Regions from separate parts of the Homo sapiens genome. Here regions 1, 2, 3 and 5 are each linked to region 4. The links are contacts of gene promoters, found by promoter capture Hi-C in blood cells and fetal thymus (Javierre and others, 2016). All regions are on one chromosome and are shown on one strand. Each heading gives the region's core, a stretch centred on a gene start or on the middle of the fragment in contact. The rest is flanking DNA. Distances are from core to core; before and after follow the strand shown.

What was found. The method cuts DNA at HindIII sites, captures the fragments that hold promoters and counts their contacts. A CHiCAGO score of 5 or more calls a contact.
Region 1: a contact is called between the fragment with the promoter of DGAT1 here and the fragment with the promoter of SPATC1 in region 4, in 2 of 17 cell types (endothelial precursors and erythroblasts). The highest score is 6.3, in endothelial precursors.
Region 2: a contact is called between a fragment that was not itself captured here and the fragment with the promoter of SPATC1 in region 4, in 7 of 17 cell types (M0 macrophages, M1 macrophages, M2 macrophages and 4 more). The highest score is 11.8, in M0 macrophages.
Region 3: a contact is called between the fragment with the promoter of SLC39A4 here and the fragment with the promoter of SPATC1 in region 4, in 3 of 17 cell types (erythroblasts, naive CD4 T cells and endothelial precursors). The highest score is 9.1, in erythroblasts.
Region 5: a fragment that was not itself captured here is called in contact with the fragment with the promoter of SPATC1 in region 4 in 2 of 17 cell types (endothelial precursors and erythroblasts); the score reaches 5.9 in endothelial precursors.

The regions. Positions count from the first base shown.
Region 1 is chr8:144,324,608-144,328,617 of GRCh38, reverse strand. It overlaps DGAT1 (diacylglycerol O-acyltransferase 1), which reads left to right and starts at 1,766. Exons shown (of 17, transcript NM_012079.6): 1 at 1,766-2,181. The coding sequence starts at 1,982. RefSeq lists silencers at 1,340-2,059, 2,070-2,139. The HindIII fragment of the contact is 39,409 bases long and covers 1-4,010 here.
Region 2 is chr8:144,291,842-144,296,024 of GRCh38, reverse strand. It overlaps HSF1 (heat shock transcription factor 1), which reads right to left. Exons shown (of 13, transcript NM_005526.4): 1 at 4,151-4,183. Among named protein-coding and RNA genes, the nearest start is that of HSF1, 2.3 kb to the right of the region's middle. RefSeq lists enhancers at 3,624-3,683, 3,286-3,942 and a silencer at 4,074-4,183. The HindIII fragment of the contact is 1,460 bases long and covers 2,193-3,652 here.
Region 3 is chr8:144,415,594-144,419,175 of GRCh38, reverse strand. SLC39A4 (solute carrier family 39 member 4) reads left to right here and starts at 2,332. Exons shown (of 12, transcript NM_130849.4): 1 at 2,332-2,578; 2 at 3,085-3,366. The coding sequence starts at 2,387. It overlaps LOC124902041 (a long non-coding RNA gene), which reads right to left. Exons shown (of 2, transcript XR_007061145.1): 2 at 1-3,582. The HindIII fragment of the contact is 10,558 bases long and covers 1-3,582 here.
Region 4 is chr8:144,010,574-144,014,456 of GRCh38, reverse strand. SPATC1 (spermatogenesis and centriole associated 1) reads right to left here and starts at 2,177. Exons shown (of 5, transcript NM_198572.3): 1 at 1,731-2,177. The coding sequence starts at 1,941. It also overlaps a transcript of PARP10 not described here. RefSeq lists an enhancer at 2,126-2,345. The HindIII fragment of the contact is 8,382 bases long and covers 1-3,883 here.
Region 5 is chr8:144,383,939-144,387,897 of GRCh38, reverse strand. All of the region lies in intron 3 of ADCK5 (aarF domain containing kinase 5), which reads right to left. Among named protein-coding and RNA genes, the nearest start is that of MIR939, 8.3 kb to the left of the region's middle. The HindIII fragment of the contact is 2,664 bases long and covers 841-3,504 here.

The DNA.
Region 1 (4,010 bases), core at 517-3,016, 310 kb before region 4:
ATCTGCCAGGTAGCTCCAGCCTGCCTGATACCTGGTTGGCAGCAACCCACAGCGGCCTGTGGTGACAAGAATATGTCACCAGGGGGGCAACCAAGGGGGCAGCCCTGCTGGCCACTGTTGGTGGAGGTGGTGGAAGAGGACGGAGCTCAGAGGCGAGGCTGTGACCAGCCCACGGGAGAGGACCCCACCTCAGGAGGAGCACCTGTTTGCTTCCAGAGAAGTGCTGCTTGCCCCTGCTCACCCCAGAGGAATGAAGGTGTTTCTAGAGTCAGAGTCCTCAGTGAACCCTGGCATCCTGAGATCCAGGATGTTCTCACTCCATGCCCTGTGCAATATGCACACCAAGCCAAGGTGGGCCGCAACTGTGGCTGTTACAGTTGATTAGTTGCTTCATTTAACATACAAGATGTCTGGGGCAGTGGCTCATACCTGTAATCCCAGCACCTTCAGAGGCCGAGGTGGGAGGATTGCGTGAGGCCAGGAGTTCGAGACCAGCCTGGGCAGAATAGCGAGACCCCCATCTTTAGAAAAAATAACAACAGGCCAGGCGCGGTGGCTTGCGCCTATAATCCCAGCACTTTGGGAGGCCGAGGTGGGCGGATCACGAGGTCAGGAGATCGAGACCAGCCTGGCCAATATGGTGAAAGCCCGTCTCTACTAAAAACAGAAAAATTAGCTGGGCGTGGTGGCACGCGCCTGTAGTCCTGGCTACTCGGGAGGCTGAGGCAGGAGAATCGCTTGAACCCAGGAGGTGGAGGTTGCAGTGAGACGAGATCGCGCTACTGCACTCCAGCCTGGCGACAGAGTGAGACTGTCTCAAAAAAAGAAAAAAGAAAACAAAAAACAACAGGGCGGTTGCACAGGCCGTGCAAATGCACAGAAGCCTCTTGAGTCCCGGCGATCCAGCGGCCCAGACTTCTGACATCCTGGAGAGGCTGGCCCACGTTGGAAACTGGGAGGCCCTGAGAGTTGAGGGACGTGGAGCTCCTTGTGGAGAGAGTGGGTGGGCTGAGAAGACACCACCAAGGGGCCTGCGCCCTCGCCCTCGCCCTCGCCCTCCTCTCGCCGGGCTCTGCAGGCGGGGAGGTGGAGAGCCTGGGAGTCGCGTGCAAGGCAGGCGTCCCGGTGACGCAGGGCCTGGTGCATTTCTCCAGCTTGGTCTTCTGACCTGGCCCTTGTCTGACGTCCCCCTAAGGCGAAGAAAAGCAGGTTCCTGCCGGGGTAACCAGAGGGCTCGCGGAGCAGAAGCGCGCCAGGGACGTTACTGTAAGCTGCGTGCGCAGAAACCAACGCGCTGGGTGGCGGGCGACGCGAGCCGCCGCGGACACCGGCCCGGACAGCTGGACCGTGGCGCACTAGGCGCTTCCTAAATGATTGCCCGGAGTGACTCGCCGAGACCCCGTGTGTACACAAGTGGGACGAGGGGCGGGCGCACAGCGGCCAGGAAGTCGGGGCCCAGCGCACCCCTCAGCGGACCATCCCGCTCCGTGGGGCCGGACAGGACCCCGGGACCACGCGGGAGCGATGCAAGGTCCGTTCCCGCTGCGCGCACTTGCGGCCCGCAGCCCCGGCCCTGGGAGCTGCCACGGCTCCCAGGGTGCTCTGCGCCGGTGCGGCCGCGGCGACTACGACTCCCAGGGTGCTCTGCGCCGGCGCGCCCGCGGCGACTACGACTCCCAGGGTGCCCTGCGCCCCGTCAGCCTCTCCAGGCCCCGCCTCAGGTCGGCCGCGGACTACAAATGGACGAGAGAGGCGGCCGTCCATTAGTTAGCGGCTCCGGAGCAACGCAGCCGTTGTCCTTGAGGCCGACGGGCCCGACGCGGGCGGGTTGAACGCGCTGGTGAGGCGGTCACCCGGGCTACGGCGGCCGGCAGGGGGCAGTGGCGGCCGTTGTCTAGGGCCCGGAGGTGGGGCCGCGCGCCTCGGGCGCTACGAACCCGGCGGGCCCACGCTTGGCTGCGGCCGGGTGCGGGCTGAGGCCATGGGCGACCGCGGCAGCTCCCGGCGCCGGAGGACAGGGTCGCGGCCCTCGAGCCACGGCGGCGGCGGGCCTGCGGCGGCGGAAGAGGAGGTGCGGGACGCCGCTGCGGGCCCCGACGTGGGAGCCGCGGGGGACGCGCCAGCCCCGGCCCCCAACAAGGACGGAGACGCCGGCGTGGGCAGCGGCCACTGGGAGCTGAGGTAGCGGAGCGCCTGACCCCCTAACCTCTGACCCAAGGGCCCCGCGACTTTCCGGGGTTGGCCGAAGCGCGAGCTCCGAGTCCGAGAACATGGGCCCTGGGCTAAGCGGGGATCGGTGTGCCCTATGGGCCCTGTGGGGAAACTGAGGCTTGGGGAGAGTCACCTGACAAGGTCACTGGGTAGGGGCTCTGGAGCTGGCCTTGGCCAGGCAGAGGGGAGCCGGCAGGTGTCCCGCATCCAGATCCTCTTGGGTCTGTGCATCCTCAGGGGCTCCTGAGGAGCTTTTCGAGGGGCGGGCTGGTGGGGGCCCGGCCCTGGACAGTGTCCCCTTATATGGAAGGAGTCAGATAAGATCTGGGCAGTTTGTGGTGATAGGTTCCTTCTTGGTGCTATGAGCGGTGCCTTGCGGGTAGGAAAGGCTCCCAGAGGAGGGCTGGCCTGCCAGGGAGGGGGCCAGAGGAGCCCAGGCCTGTCCGAGGACAGGGGAATCAGCAGCTGCCCCGGACAAGGGGCAGTGTTAGAGGCGTTCTTGTCCTTGCAGACCCTTCTGAGAGTGGCTGCGTGGCCCATTCATTGCTCCAGTGGTTAGGCTGGCCTGGAGCCCTGCCGATGTTGCCAGAGCCAGCGTCTGTTGTAGGGACAGAGAGTTGGGTTCTGTGTTGGGACTTCCATCCTCCAGGTGGGGAGTGGGGTATGGGGGTGGTGGACACACCTGCAGGCGTGTGCCCTGCTCAGCTGGATGACTGACAGAGAGGGGTGGAGGGAGAGAACCATGGCCGATGGGAAGGACTTGGCCAGCCTGGGCATTGGCTTCCTCCACCAAGCTGGCCTTGAGCAATCCCCTTGCCACCCTCCATCCCCCCTTTATGGCCTTTACCCTGGCCCAGGGGCCCTCAGGGCTTTGTTTTAGAGAGCAGCTGAGGGCCTAGAGGTTATCAAGGCAGAAGTGGGCTGATTTTGGACATGTAGTTGGCAATGATTTGCTCTCTCAGTGAGCAAGAACAGAGCTTTCCTTCACGGGGCACCATGGGGAGGGGGTTGGGGGAGGGCAGGCACTGTCGTGGCCCTCAGGGTGCTCAGTTCATCTGGGAGATAAGATAACCTCAGCGAGAGTCAGGCATGGAGCAACATGGACAAAGGTCGGGCACGGAGGCCTTGAAGGGGCCGTGGGGAGGAGGGTGGCCCTCCTGAGAGGGGTGCTTGCCTGCTGTGGGCCTGGGGTGCTGGTGAGGGAGGCTGGCCTAGGCACCTCCTACCTGAAAAGGAGGTGTGGCTCCTGGAGTTACCCTCTCTCCAGGAGGCAGGGGGATGGCTACATGACCTGTGGAGGACGTGGGAATTGAGATTTCTTTTTTTTTCTTTTCTTTTTTTTTGAGACTAGTTTTGCTCTTGTTGCCCAGGCTGGAGTAAAATGGCACATTCTTGGCTCACTGCAACCTCTGCCTCCCAGGTTCAAGTGATTCTCCTGCCTCAGCCTCCAGAGTAGCTGGGATTAGAGGCGCCCACCACACCCGGCTAATTTTGTATTTTTAGTAGAGATGGGGTTTCTCCATGTTGGTCAGGCTGGTCTCGAACTCCTGAACTCAGGTGATCCACCTGCCTTGGCCTCCCAAAGTGCTGGGATTACAGGTGTGAGCCACCGCGCCCGGCCGGGAATTGAGATTTTTTTTAGTGTGAGATGAGGGTAGTCCCAGCTTTGGGCCAAGCCGCCACCTGGGGGTAGGCAGGGGAGAGCAGTCACCTTCTTGCTTTGCAAACCAGCAAGGCTTTCCTGTACTTCTGCTGGTGTGGGATGGGTGCAGAGCTCGTGGGAGAGGCCTGGTGAGTCC
Region 2 (4,183 bases), core at 1,673-4,172, 280 kb before region 4:
GGGAGCCCCAGGGTTTCAGCACATCCTTCTAGAGTCTTTCCAGCTGCACCCATGAGGCTGGGGCCAGGTGAAGACAGAGAAGCATCCAGGAGCCCACATCTAAGGAGGCCCCCACTCCCAGCGCCATCCGAATGCAGGTAGGTCTTAAAAAGGAATGCCTCAGGGCCAGGCGCGGTGGCTCAAGCCTGTAATCCCAGCACTTCGGGAGGCTGAGATGGGAGGATGGCTTGAGCCCGTGAGTTCCAGACTAGCTTGGGCAATACGGCGAGACCCTGTCTCTACTAAAACCTTAAAAAGAAAAAAAAAAAAAAGCCAGGTCTGGTGGTGCAAGCCTGTAGTCCCAGTGACTCAGCTGAGGTGACTGGATCACTTGAGCCTGGGAGGCAGAGGCTGCAGCGAGCTGCAATCATAGCCCTGCACTCCAGCCTGGGCAACAGAGCGAGACCTTATCTAAAAAACAAAAAGTGCTTCCTTAAATTTTGCACCCAGGTGCCCCCTCTGGCCTCACCCTGATCCTGAGGCCTCCGTCTACCTGGGTTCGTTCTAACCTGCGTGACCATCATTCTAGCATTTGTCTGGCACAGGTCATGTGGCTGTGCCTTGTTCTCAGGCTCCTCAGCCAGCTGGGTGGCTCCTGGGGCTGTAATCTCACCATCTCAGATGTCGAGATTACTTTTCATACTTCCTTATCTTGTTAATAAAGATGGGACAAAATCATAGCTTGTAAAAAACTGGGATGATGGTGAACCCAGTTCTGAGGCTTCACTTTCTGCTTTTGTTTGGTTCTCCATGCTGTCAAATTCTCTGAAGAGGCTGTTGCCCTCCTGAGTCAGCTGCAGCCCAGCAAGGCCCTAGAAGAGCCTCTGCTGGTGGACAGAGGAGCTGCTGCATGCAGACGAGGAAGCTGGGCTGAGGGCCGGCACCAGGGCACGGGGCAGGGAGGCTGCGGGTCCCGGGTCTCATGGGTCTCAGTTCTATGGAGGTGCCTGTCAGTCCAGGTATTCAGTCCCCCAACCCCGTCTTTGGGTCTCAGTGGTACTGGATCCAGGTGTACCTTTGGGAGAAGCTGTTGAGAAGCTGGCTGAGGGAGGACCACCCACGTGCACGCCCATGCTCTTATGTGGATCCCCGGGATCATAACCTTGTGGCTGACACATTTCCTCTCCAAGGCTGTGCTGTCCTCCACGACTTGCTGGGTCCCCTCAAGGCCCTTGCCTGTGTGGGTGGGGTGCTCATGGGAATGAGGGTCTTGGGAGGGGGGGGTGGGAAATCAAACAACACAGGGATGGGGTAGCTGCCACAGTCCCCACCAATGGGGTCTCCTGGGCAGTGACCCGGCATTCTGCCTCCAGTGGCTGCAGTGGGAGTCCTGATCTCAGGCCAGGGAGGGGACGTGCAATGGTGGTCCAGACCTGGTCCCATTCCTGGCCAGGCTCAGTAAAGTTACTGGCCAGTTTCTGGGCCTCGGTCTCCCCCAGGTTATTCAGCCTTGAGAGTTAGTCACCATGCCTGTGATTCTGCCTCATCTTCTTGTGTCAAATAGGGAGGGTTTTTCTTGGCAGAATGGTGGTAAGACTCTGAGCCAGAAGGAGACTCTCCCAGAGAAGGCAGCAGAGAGCAAGAGCACCAGGGCCTTCTCAAGGCCTCCGAGAGCCAGCTGGGCCTGGGCAGTAGATTTGTGGGAGGGTGCCCTGTTGGGACTCTGCTGACAGGGAGTCCTCAGGGCTTGTGTGAGTGCTCTCAAAGTCACAGGATGGGATGATCACCTCCTTTCTCCAGGCCAGGCAGCCAGCGCCGGAAAGCTCTGCAGCCCCCTGCGCGGCCTGGAGAAGGGCTTCCTTCCAGTTTTAAGTCAGTGTTTCTGTCTCATTGCCATGCTCGCCCCCAGTGCTACGTCCTGCACCAACCATTGCCACTTCATACTGACCAGGTGGAACCAAACACTCACATTCCAGTTGGCTCCCCATCCCTCCCCAGGGAGAACAGATCCACAGGTGGTGCACCTGTGAGTGGAGTGGAGGCTGGCCACGGGCCTCATCACACCTGCCTTCCTTGCTCAAAAGCCCTGCCCAGAACATGCCTCGGTCCCAAAAAAGGGTACACTGGGCCCTAACCCACATGCCTCATAATCTTTAAGCAGAAACAGCAAGCAGATTACGGGACAGGACAGATCACGCTAGTAGGATTAAGCTTAGAATATCCCAGATAATCGCGGATGCCCCTCCCCCAATGGGGGAGTTATTCCCCTTAACTTCTGAGGATTAAGGGGAATAAGAAAAAGAAGAAGGGCTGGGTGCAGTGGCTCACACCAGTAATCCCAGCACTTTGGGAGGCCAAGGCGGGTGGATAACTTGAGGTCAGGAGTTCCAGACCAGCCTGTCCAATGTGGTGAAACCCCGTCTCTACTAAAAATACAACAATCAGCCGGGTGTGGCAGCACGCACCTGTAGTCCTGGCTACTCGGGAGGCTGAGGCAGAATTGCTTGAACCCGGGAGGTGGAGGTCGCAGTGAGCCGAGATCGCACCACTGCACTCCAACCTGGGTGACAGAGCAAGACTCGGTCTAAAAAAAAAAAAAAGAAAAAAGAAAAAGACGGATAAAAGAAGACAGAAACATGGGAGTATTTCCTTTGCACAAGAATCCAAGGTCTAGAATGAAGAGATGGTGAAATGAAGCCAGCCTCCAGGAAGGTGCACTGTGCCTTAATGGGACCTGGGGATGGGAAGGCCAACACAGAGGTGTCAGCGGGACAAACACAAAGTGTTTCTAACAAGAGCAAAGATTTCCAGTCTTCTCTTTATTTCCAAACACTCTGTAGGTAAAGCAGAGCCTCAGTAAACCCAAGAAGCAGAAAACCTGGCCTCCTGCCTGGGGCAGCTTCAGTTTAGACTTTTCTTCATTCCTAACAGCATAAAGAGGCTGTGCAAATGGGAGGCACTCAGCAGAGCCTGAAGAACTCTGGGGTCTTAGCTCCTGGGAGGCCACACATGCTTGGTGGCACCCTGCCGGTCACGGTGCCTCCAAAAGCTCCCAATGATCAGTGGCCTTTCTTTTTTTTCTTTTTTTTCTTAGACAGGGTCTCACTCTTTGCCAGGCTGCAGTGGCGGGATCTTGGTTCAGTGCAACCTCTGCCTCCCAGGTCCAGGGAGTCCTCCTATCTCAGCCTCCCAAGTAGCTAAGACCACAGGCAAGCACCACCACGCCCGGCAAATTTTTTGTATTTTTAGTAGAGCTGGGGTTTTGCCATATTGTCCGGGCTGGTCTCGAACTCCTGGCCTCAAGTGATCCACCCGCCTCCGCCTCCCAAAGTGCTGGGATTACAAGCAAGAGTCACCCCACTCGGCCAGTGTGGCCCTTCTTCAGGTCATCACTTGCCAGCCGCAGGCGGTGGCTCTGCCCCTCACCGGACACGACGTCACAGCCGGGATGTGAACAGCAGATTCTGATCTCCAACTCCAGACAATCACTGATTTACTTCTGCAAACCGGAGCTGTCCGGTCTTGCAGGGTCGGACCATGTAAACAAGCCTGCTGCCAGGCAACTGAAGACAGAAACACGAATAAAGATGCCCCATAAGGAATGAAAAACAAAACTCCTCTTGGGAAACCCAGATTTGGGATTCGGAAACGGGCTTGAGATCAACCTGAAGCTTCATGACGTCTTACTGTTTCCACTGCCTTTCCTGTTCCACTACAGCAACGCCCTCCACTTCACGTGCCAAGTCCTGACTTTCTCCTAATAGTTGCCGACCCAGCACCCCGTAGGCTGTCCCCTGGGGACGCCGATGTCCTCTGGGGCATAGCGTCCGCTGGCGAAGCCGGGTGCTTGCCCTAAGCGCGGACACTTCCGCAACCGCCCAACAGTTAGCAGAAGCCCAATACAAGAGACGCCCCATTCTCCCCATCCCAGGGAAACTTCGCTGGGGCAGGGGTTGAACCGAGTGTGGGTCTCGTAGCCGCTTTCCCAACTTAAGGCTCTGGGTCTGAGCAGGCTCGGGACCCGCCGCCCTTCTCTGGCGGGGGCAGGGCAGGCTCACCGCGCGTAAGCTGAAGTGCGGCAGGGCCCCTCCCCGCAGCCCTCCCGCGCCGTCCGCCGCGGCCCTGCTCCCTCCCGGTCCCCACGGGCCCCGCGCCCGCGCGCTGCCCTCACCGGGCTCCAGCAGATGAGCGCGTCGGTGTCCGG
Region 3 (3,582 bases), core at 1,083-3,582, 400 kb before region 4:
TCCTTCCTTTTTCTGGCTGAATCGTGTTCCACTGTGGATGAACCACGATGTGTTCACTCATGCGCGTTTGGATACTTGAGTTGCTTCCATCTTTTGAATAGTGCTGCCATTGAACGTGGGCTTTTTTTTGTTGTTGTTTTTTTCTTTTTAGAGTCAGGGTCTTGCCAGGTTGCCCGGGCTGGAGTGCGTGATGCGATCGTGGCTCACTGCAGCCTCCACCTCCTGGGCTCAAGCAATTCTGCCTCAGCCTCCCGAGTCGCTGGGACTACAGGCACCCACCACCACTCAGGGTGCCTTAATTTGTTTTTGTGTTTTTAGTGGAGCTCGGGTTTCACCATGTTGCCCAGGCTGGTCTTAAACTCCTGACTTTAAGTGATCCCCCCGCCCCGGCCTCCCACAGCGCTGGGATTACAGGTGTGAGCCAGCGTGACCAGCCGGTGTTGTTTTTAAGATGGGCCAGTTGCAGTGAGCTTGTTGGATGACAGAGTGGGCCTGAGGGGCAGGAGAGTGCAACCCGTCTGCTCTGGGGAAGCCGGCCTTAGGCTGGGGCATGGGCAGGTGAAACCCTCAACAGCTGCTCCTGGGCTACGGAAGAGAGTTTCTGCTGGGAGGGGTGGGGTCACATGAATGGAGGGAATGGAGGAGGCCTGTAGCCCAGCACTGAGGCCTACTGGGGAGGCAGCTCAGGAAGGCCACAGAGTCAGGCCCAGGCCAAGACCTTTGCCCAGAAGCTAAAGTAGGCCCTTGAGCCTATTTTAGCATGGGTGGCCTCCAGCCAGCCCATTGGTCCTGGGGTGGTGTGGGAGGGAAAGGGCCAGTTTGGGTCCGCAGCATCTTCAGGCTGTGTGTAGAGCAGCCCCCTCATGGTCCTGGGACCCAGAAATCATCTGCACCCCCAGCAGGCTCTGCACCCCCGGCAGGATCTGCACCCCCGGCAGGCTCCCCTAAGGGCCCCCAGAAGGATACCACTGCGGGTGGGCCCAGCCAGAGGAGCACCATGAGATCCGCTTGGTGGGGTGAGGCCGGCAGGGGAAGCACCCTGACCCCAGGACACTGGGCTCAATGCCCGCCCTGCCCCGTCCCACCCTGTGTATGGCGGGACAGAGTCCTTGGGCCTCAGGCACCCAGCTCCCCACCCCAGCCCCACCCACAATGCTCAGGGTCAGGCTGGCTGGACCGGGCGGGAGGTGGCATCTGGACTCCCCCTTCAGAAGGCAAAGCTGCCCTGAGATCTGCCTTCCCCTTCCCCCAGACTTCCTGCCATCACCACCACGGTAGAGATAAGGCCTCTAGGCTCAAAGGCCAGAGAGGGAGCCCACAGAGAGGGCAGGGCTGGGAGCCACAGCCTCCCTGCCCCCGGGGCTAGAGCTGGGGTCTTGCCCCAATCTTATCCTGACCCAAGCTCGGCCAGGTGGCTGCCAGGGCCCAGCTCCGTCTTCCTGTTTGTCTGTGTTGGAGCTTCCTGGGGCTGTCTCCGGCCTAAGGGAGCATGATGCAGCAGGCACCTTTTCAGTTTCTTTGACTCCATCGCAGTCCCCAACAGGGACCACAGCCCAGGACCCAGGAGGAGGGAGGTCCATGTCCCCACCCCCAACAGGGGCCACCGAGGGTGTCTGGGCAGCCTCTGTTGGGAGGGGCAGAGGCAGGGACCTGGGAGCTCTCAGGCTCTGGGGGCATCTGTGCACCTCTGCCCTGTGTCCCCCAGCTTGGAGGCAGCCCCCAGATGGACAGCCAGAAGGGGACACCCCAGCCCTGCCCCACAGCTTGGGGGGCAGCAGGCAGAGGACAGAAGCCCACCCAGGCTGGCCTGGCGTGGTGAGCCACGCCGGTAATCCCAGCACTTTGGGAGGCCAAGGCGGGCGAATCACCTGAGGTTGGGAGTTCAAGACCAGCCTGACCAACATGGAGAAACACTGTCTCTACTAAAAATACAAAAGTAACCGGGCGTGGTGGCGCTGCCTGTAATCCCAGCTACTCGGGAGGCTGAGGCAGGAGAAGCACTTGAACCCGGGAGGCGGAGGTTGCCGTGAGCCAAGATCACGCCATTGCACTCCAGCCTGGGCAGCAAGAGCAAAACTCCAACTCGAAAAAAAAAAGACCACCGAGGCTGCCTGTCCAGGGGAAGGGGCCCAGCCCTCGACCCCCACAGGCAGTGGCTCCAGGCTGTTGGGGAGGATCTGCCACTGGAATGGTTAACCCAGGCATCTCCAGCAGCCAATCACAGAGCTCTGCAGGAATACCTGGGAGAGGTCCTCATGCAGCCCGGGCGGGTCCTAGCCCAGCCCCAGTCTGGCCCTGGACAACCCCAGCAAAGCCGCCCTCAGCCAGCCCAGAAGCACTGGGCCTTGGCCACAGCAACACCCACTGAGCACGCTGGGAGCTGAGTATGGCGTCCCTGGTCTCGCTGGAGCTGGGGCTGCTTCTGGCTGTGCTGGTGGTGACGGCGACGGCGTCCCCGCCTGCTGGTCTGCTGAGCCTGCTCACCTCTGGCCAGGGCGCTCTGGATCAAGAGGCTCTGGGCGGCCTGTTAAATACGCTGGCGGACCGTGTGCACTGCGCCAACGGGCCGTGTGGAAAGGTAACAGCCCCACCCGACGGGTCCCCCAGCCCTGGCCTCTTCCCGCCAGCTCCGCCCTGCCAGCCGGCAGCAAAGGGCCCTGGGCAAACTCCAGGAGGCGGAGGAGGCTAGTGGCAGTACCTGGGCACCCTGACCCTCCCCACAGGCCAGAGCCCACCCTCCTGCTCATGAGGGCAGACAGGCCTTTCCAGGGACACAGTCCCTCTTCTCCCCAGGACCCCAGGGCCAACTCCCCCTGCCGGCCCTCTGCCATCAAATTGGCAGTGGCTCCAGGGGAGTCCCCTGGGGATGGGGGACCACTGTTGGGGACCCCTCTGCGTGCACCCCTGTAGTTGGGGAAGCAGGACAGGGGCCTGGGGAGACGGAAGGGCGCCAGGGGTTGAGAGAGGATGGTGGACGTTGTTGGACTTGAAAGGGAAACAGGCCCTCGGGGAAGCCCCTGGCCAGGCCTGCCTCTCCCCTCCCTGGTGGGCCCAGCGCCCCTGCTCACTTGTCTCTGCCCACAGTGCCTGTCTGTGGAGGACGCCCTGGGCCTGGGCGAGCCTGAGGGGTCAGGGCTGCCCCCGGGCCCGGTCCTGGAGGCCAGGTACGTCGCCCGCCTCAGTGCCGCCGCCGTCCTGTACCTCAGCAACCCCGAGGGCACCTGTGAGGACGCTCGGGCTGGCCTCTGGGCCTCTCATGCAGACCACCTCCTGGCCCTGCTCGAGAGCCCCAAGGCCCTGACCCCGGGCCTGAGCTGGCTGCTGCAGAGGATGCAGGCCCGGGCTGCCGGCCAGACCCCCAAGATGGTGAGGGAGAGTCCAGGCAGACCAGGGGAGTGGGTGAGGAGGGTCCCACGGCCCATGGGACCCGGCCTGGCTGCAAAGCCTTCGGGGAGCCTGGGGGCCTGGGGAGACGCCCAGGAGTCGGCCTGCGGCTGGGGATTCACAACGTGGGGCTCACTACTGGGCAGTTGGGAGCCTGTAGGAGCCCCGGGAGGGACCTCATGAGGGAGGAACCCAGAG
Region 4 (3,883 bases), core at 928-3,427:
ATTTTCTTCTTCTTCTTCTTCCTTCTTTCTTCCTCTCCTCCTCCTCCTTCTTCTTCTTGTTCTTCTTCTCCTCCTCCTCCTCTCTTTTCCTTCCTTCCTTCCTTTCCCTTTCTTTCTCTTTCTTTCTTTCTTTTTTCCTTTCCCTCCCTTCCATCCTTCCTTCCTTCCTCTCTCTCTCTCTTTCTTTCTTTCTTTCCTTCTTTTTCTTTCAAAATTTCGCTCTTTTTGCCCAGGCTGCAGTGCAATGGCGCAACCTCGGCTCACTGCAACCTCTGCCTCCCAGTTCAAGGGATTCTCCTGTCTCAGCCTCCCAAGTGGCTGGGACCACAGGCATGTGCCACCACGCCTGGCTAACTTTTTGTATTTTTAGTAGAGATGGGGTTTCACTATGTTGGCCAGGCTGGTCTCAAACTCCTGACCTCAGGTGATCCACCCACCTTGGCCTCCCAAAGTGCTGGGATTATGGGCTGAGCCACTGCACTCAGCCTATTATTAGTTTTTGAGATGGAGTCTCGCTCTGTTGACCAGGCTGGAGTGCAGTGGTGTGATCTTGGCTCACTGCAAACTCCACCTCTCAGGTTCAAGTGATTCTCCTGCCTCAGCCTCCCGAGTAGCTGGGATTATAGGCGTGAACCACCATGTCCAGAAGATTTTTGTGTTTTTAGTAGAGATGGCGTTTCGCCATGTTGGCCATGTTGATCTCAAACTCCTGACCTCAGGTCATCTGCTTGCCTCAGCTTCCCAAAGTGCTGGGATTATAGGTGTGAGCCACCGCACCTGGCCCCATGTGTATTATTCTTTTTACCCTCTCTGTTGTCTCTGTGTCATTAGGGGTATAACATTTAAAGCTAGAGGTGTCTATGTGCTCGTAATCAGTAAGGGAGAACTGAAGACCAGCCCTATGCCACATTTCAGGTTGTATGGCAGGGAACCCAGTGGGTAGGGGGCAGGGAATTAAGACAGGAGGGGAGTGAGCACAAGCCTGAAGGGCTTTAGCTGCTGGAAAGACCCAAGTTATCAGTCAGAAACATGTCTAGTTTGGAGTGAGCTAAGTTCCAGTGACTCATTGAGCCTGCAGGATCTGGAGGGGATCTTGAGTTCTAGTGGAGAGTTGAAGCTGCGCTGTGGGTACGCTGGCTGAGGGTGGAGGGACAGGGCCTGGACCCAGAGCCTGGGAGCAGCCTCAATTAAGATGAGCCAGAGGGATGGACAAGATGGCTTGGGAACTCAGAAAGAGGGTCATGGAGGAGGGCTATCGATCTCAGATGCCATGCAGAGGTGGAGAAGGATGCAGCACCTAGGAAGGCACTTGTGACCGTTCTAGAGCAGTGGTGTCAGGGTTCGTTGCCAAGCTGTAGAGGCTTAAATAAGCAGAGACCAGAAAGAGCAGAGGTGTCCTTTCAGGGAAGGAGGAAGATTTCATACCTGATGGTGGACAGAGGAGAGGGCCAGGTAAGGAGGGCAAGGTACAGGGCCTGTGATGGAGGCAGGTCACCGCAGGGGTGGGTGGGCTCTGAGCACCTGTGGAGAGGTCCACCCTGGACAGGAGGGAATGCAGCCTCCTCCAGGACAGGAAGCACATTGTCTGGTGAGCTGAGTGTGTTAGAGCAGAGAGGGCAAGGAGAAGGGCACTCCCTCCATGACCTCCTGAGACCTCAGCACACTGAGTCTCTCCTCTCTGGTGCAGTCCCCACTTCCCTCCTCACTCTCTTGGGAGCGAGGCCTCTTACCATTGTTCTGGCGTGAGGAAAGGCCTGCTGTTGCCTCACCAAGCCCACTCGTGAACCCGCTGATGCCGAGCCCGCCTGCCTGAGTCTTGATCGCTGACTTGAGCTCGTGATTCTCCCGAATGAGCCGCACCAACTTCTTCAGTTCCTCATTTTCCCGCACCAGCCTCTCTATCTGATGCCGAAGCCCTTCATAATTGGTGAGTAGAGACATGCCCTGGGGCAGTGGCAAGGGTGCGGCCCACGGGAGGGCACTGCACCTGGAGGCTGCCCAGGGCCCCAGGCCTTGCCTGGGCTGAAGGAGGGTGCAGAGTCTGCAAGGCTGGCCCAGTGGGCCCTGGGTATTGTGAGGTCAGAGGCTGTGCCCTCTTCCTTGCCCTCTCTGCTCTAACACCCTCAGCTCTCCATGCCACCAGGCCTGTACACAGGCCTTGCCTCGGCCTGGAATGTCCTGACCTTTTCTCTGTCTCGCCAACTTCACCCTCATGGTGCCTCTTCCGTGAAACTTCCTCTCCCCCACCGCAAGTTAATTGCTGCCCGCTGGGTTTCCCCAGCAGATGTGTCCTGTGTCATAGCACTTCCCCTGGTTCCAGTTCCGTGCTAGCTCCTTAACATTGTCCACTGGCTTTACAGTGAGGTCAGGGATTGTAACACGTTCCTGGAAACCCCAGTGTCCAGCACAGGGCTTGGCACAATGTTTGTAGGTAAACAGTAAATATTTGTTGAATGAAAACCCACCACTCCACCTTCCTGGCCAGGATGCCCCTTCTTGGTGATCTTGAACATGCCTGGGTTTGGCCTCTCAGCCTTCTCCTGGTTGCTGTGTCTTGAAGGCCTGGACACTCGCCCATGATTTCTTCTGACCCAGGTGCTCAGAGTCTCTATCTTACTGCTGGTCCAGGAGCTCTCTATAACTTGGAGTTTCCATTTCTGGTGACTCAGCGTTCCCTATTCCAAATCTCCCGTCGTTGCCTTCTCCGCACTTGGATCTCTATTCCCCAGCTCCTTGAATTTTCCTGACTTTAGTCCTTCAGGAGCCCAAGACTGCATCCCTCACCTGGTTCTAAGAACTCAGGACTCAGTCCTCATGATGCTCCCCTTCTCTTAGAGCTATCTACAGATAACTCTATGGTACTGACCTTGAGTACTGAGTGAGGCCGTGTCCTCGTGGCCTCCATTGGCTCTGTGGCTGTTCTCCCTCAAACCTCTTTTTGGGGCAGGGAGAGGATAGCGAAGTCCAGGTACAGGCCAGAGGACAGACTCCTGGTAGAATGTGGGAATGAGGAAGGGGAAGAAGGTCAGCCAGGGCTGGGATCGCTGTGAGTTGAGCATTCTGCCTGGACCTCACAATGGGGGGCCTACCCCCACCCCTCCTCTAATGCTTCAGACTGTAATCCTGGCTCAGTCACTCTGGCCCCAGGGACCAGAGCCCCCAAGAACCAGAGTTGAGGTCTCTTCAGTCACCCCTCTAACTTTATAGAGTGTCTCTGTTGGGCTTTCCTTCAACATGTGAAAATTAGCTTGTCATGGTCTTATTTCACTGTTAGCCTCTTGGGTTGATGCAGTCAGTGATGGTTACATTTTATGTGTCAATTTTGTGAGGCTATAGTGTCCAGGTGTTTGGTCAAAATCTAGCCTAGATAGTGCTGTGAAGCTATTATATACTTGTAGCTATTAATCACGTCTATTAGACGTCTAATAGACGTGATTAATAGCTACAAGATGTTGACTTTAAAGGAGATTACCTTCAGTTATTTGGGTGGGCCTCATCCATTCAGTTGAACAACTTTTTAAAAATTTATTTTTTTAATTTTTAAATTTGTTTATTTATTTATTTATTTTTTTGAGGCAAGGTCTCAGTCTGTTGCCCAGGCTGCAATGCAGTGTCACCATCATAGTTCACTGCTGCCTCGACCTCCCATGCTCAAGCGATCCTGCTGCCTCAGCCTCCCAAGTAGCTGAGACTACAGGTGTGTGCCACCACACTCGGCTAATTTTTATTAAAAACATTTTTTTTTGTAGACATGGGGTCTTACCACATTGCCCAGGCAGGCCTCAAACTCTTGGGCTCAAGCAATCCTTCTGCCTCAGCCTCCCAAAGTGCTGGGATTACAGGTGTGAGCTACTGTGCCTGGCAGAAGAACTTAAGAGTGAAA
Region 5 (3,959 bases), core at 923-3,422, 370 kb before region 4:
AGCTGGGTGTGGTGGCGTGTGCCTGTAATCCCCAGCTACTAAGGAGGCTGAGGCAGGAGAATCGCTTGAATCCAGGAGGTGGAGGTTGCAGTGAGCGGAGATCCCACCATTGCACTCCAGCCTGGGCAACAAGAGTGAAACTCTGTCTCAAAAAAAAAAAAAAGTATCAATGAGTGCTAAACTGCTGGGTGGAGGCCAGGCGCAGTGGCTCATGCCTATAATCCCAGCACTTTGGGAGGCTGAGACAGATGGATCACTTAAGGTCAGGAATTCAAGACCAGCTTGGCCAACATGGAGAAACCCCATCTCTACTAAAAATTAAAAAAAAATTAGCTGGGTGTGGTGGCAGGTGTCTGTAATCCCAGCTACTGGGGAGACTGGGGCTGGGAGAATTGCTTGAACCCAGGAGGCAGAGGCTGAAGTGAGCCAAGATGTTGCCACTGTACTCCAGCCTGAGTGACAGAGCAAGACTGTCTCAATAAATAAATAAAGAAACAAACAAACTGCTGGGTGGAGGAGCAGTGAGAACAGACACATCATCTCAACTGCCTCCATACGGCTAATTACAAGGGAATCAAATGGGGGAAACCGAAATCATGTGCCCCCGGCAGGACAGAAGCAGTGTCACTCCTGTGTGATTCCTGCCAAAACAGATGACGAATATGACCACAAGCAAACATCAGACAAACCCACACTGACAAAATAAGAAGCAGTGAAATATTTCTGTAAAAGATGAGATGGTAATTATTTTAGGCACTCTGGCCACGCATGAGCACATGGGCAACTGTGCACCAAGTGGTCACAGGCAATGCATGGGCATGGCTGTGTTCCAATAAAGCTTTATTTGCAAATCAGACAGCTGCCACACTAGGCCCCTGCACTTGGCCCAGGGACCACAGTTTGCTGACTCTTGTTATACAATACTTACAAGCCTGTAATCTTCAAAGGTGTCCAATCATGTGCAATGAAGAATTAACTTTACCCAAACAGAGGACTGACCTTTGTCCCTTCTTAAGTCCTTGGGATTTCCTGAGTGATAAGGAGTGCCTCTGTTTTCCATGGTGGCCCTGAGGGCTTATGCTAAGAAGGGACTCAGGGCGAAGACCCACCACTTTGGGGCCCACGGGGATGGGAGCGGGAGGACCGGGGCTGGAAACTGAATTCCTGGGATTTTCTGAGAAACTGGAGATTTTCAATCAATCCCGCCCAAGTATTAATACCCCAACAAAAACTCCAGGCATGGCCTGCGTGGTGGCTCATGCCTGTAATCCCAGCACTTTGGGAGTCCGAGGCGGGCAGATCACTTGAGGTCAGCAGTTCAAGACCAGCCTGGCCAACATGATGAAACCCTATTGCTACTGAAAATACAAAAATTAGCCGGGCGTGATGGTGGGCACCTGTAATTCCAGCTACTCAGAAGGCTAAGACAGGAGAATCGCTTGAACCCGGGAGATGGAGGTTGCAGTGAGCCGAGATCCCACCATTGCACTCCAGCCTGGGCAGCAAGAGCGAAACTCCATCTCAAAAAATAAAAAAAAATAAGTTAAATAAAAAATTAAAAAATTTTAAAAAAAAAGTTAAATTTAGTTCAGGTATGATAGCTCACACCTGTAATCCCAGCCATTTGGGAGGCTGAGGCAAACGGATCACCTGAACTCAGGAGTTCAAGACCAGCCTGGGCATCATGGCAAAACCCCATCTCTACTAAAAATATAAAAAATTAGCCGGGCATGGTGGCGCGCACACCTGTAGTCCCAGCTACTCGGGAGGCCGAAGCATGAGAATTGCTTGAACCTGGGATATGGAGGTTGCAGTGAGCTGAGACGAAGCCACTGCACTCCAGCCTGGGCAACAGAGTGAGACTGTCTCCAAAAAATAAAAGAAAAAGGGGCGGTGGGGGAAAGCAAAACACATAGGTGATTTTTTTTTTTTTTGAGACAGAGAGTCGCTCTGTCACCCAGGCTAGAGTGCAGTGGCGTGATCTTGGCTCACTGCAAGCTCCGCCTCCCGGGTTCACGCCATTCTCCTGCCTCAGCCTCCCAAGTAGCTGGGACTACAGGCAACCGCCACCAAGCCCGGCTAATTTTTTGTATTTTTTAGTAGAGACGGGGTTTCACCATGTTAGCCAGGATGGTCTCGATCTCCTGACCTCGTGATCCACCCACCTCGGCCTCCCAAAGTTCTGGGATTACAGGCGTGAGCCACCATGCCCGGCCACATATAGGTGATTTTATTTTTTATTTTTATTTTTTGAGACGGGTCTGGCTCTGTCTTCCAGGCTGGAGTGCAATGGCGTGATCTTGGTTCACTGCAACCTCCGCCTCCCAGGTTCAAGTGATTCCCCTGCCTCAGCCTCTCAAAGTAGCTGGGATTACAGGCGTGAGCCACCGCGCCTGGTGGTGATTTAAGTTTAGGGCCAGGTGTGGTGGCTCACACCTGTAATCCCAGCACTTTGAGAGGCCGAGCTGAGCAGTTCACCTGAGGTCAAGAGTTGGAGACCAGCCTGTCCAACATGACGAAACCCTGTCTCTACTAAAAATACAAAAACTAGCCGGGCGTGGTGCCACACACCCGAAATCCCAGCTGCTTGGGAGGCGAGACAGGAGAGTCGCTTAAACCAAGGGAGCACAGGTTGCAGTGAGCTGAGATCGCACCACTGCACTCCACCCTGGGTGACAGAGCAAGACTCCGTCTCAAAAAAAAAAAAAAAAGAAAATGTAAGGAGTGGCAGAGATTAAAGACAGGGCTCTGAGGCAGAGAAACATTGTCCCAAACCTTCCACCTTCCTGGGCAGCCCCTGATCATTTGGGTACCTGTGGCCTGTTCTGACCTCTGCTGCCTTTTCTCATGGTGCACTGGCACCGCCATGCTCCTCACCCGCGCTCCTTCCTGGGCCCCTGCATGGGTGCTGCTGTCACCCAGGATGTGTTCCCAGGCTACCCTGTGCCCTGCCAGGGAAGCTCCACAGGCCTGCTTGTCTATGCAACCGTGACGGCTTAGAGCCAAGGAGAACGTGCAGACTGCTGGGAAAATTAACAACAGAGGTCCCTCCCTGCAACCCCAGCTCAGCCCCTGAGAGCGAGCTGTGAGAAGATGTTTTCCCACAAAGTGAGCCCAAAACGCAGGCTCACCAAGCCGGTGGCCGAGGAGGTGGACACCAGACACAGCTGCATGCCATGAAATAGAGGGTGAGACAAACCCAGGCCTGCCAAGCCGACATTTCAGAACCAGGCTGCAGGGGACGGTGGCTGGCAGCCCTGTGTGGCCCTTGCATGCACTGCAGCGGAGGGTCACGAGAAAAAGGCAGAGGACCCGAGGCTCTGTCGTCACCCACCCCAGGCTGCGAGACTGGATGGCCCTGCAAGACAGACAATGCCACCCAAAATCTGCAGGCAGGGACAGCAGGAACTCCAAGCAAAACCAGATGCCAGGGAGACCCACGTGGGGAACGACTGTTTTGTCTTTTAGGCTGAAAATCCTCAGGTGCCCAGCTATCCACAAGCTTCCACTCACTGCTGGAGGAAATTTCTGTGAAACTTCTGGTGAAATCTCTGAAGGCACCAGAAGCCGAGGCACTTGCTGAGAAACTGACCTAGGCCTGGCAGATGCTCGGAGGCAGGCAGAACAGGACCACACCCTCCCTGCCTCCTTCCTGCCCTGACGCTCCATTCAAAAGGGCTTTGGGGGCTGGGCACGGTGACTCACGCCTGTCATCCCAGCACTTTGGGAGGCCGAGGCGGGTGGATCACGAGGTCAGGAGATCGAGACCATCCTGGCTAACACAGTGAAACCCCGTTTCTACTAAAAATACTAAATAAATAAATAAATAAATAAATAATTTAGCCAGGCATGGTGGTGGGCACCTGTAGTCCCGGCTACTCAGGAGGCTGAGGCAGGAGAATGGCGTGAACCAGGGAGGCGGGGCTTGAGTGAGCCGAGATTGCGCCACTGCACTCCAG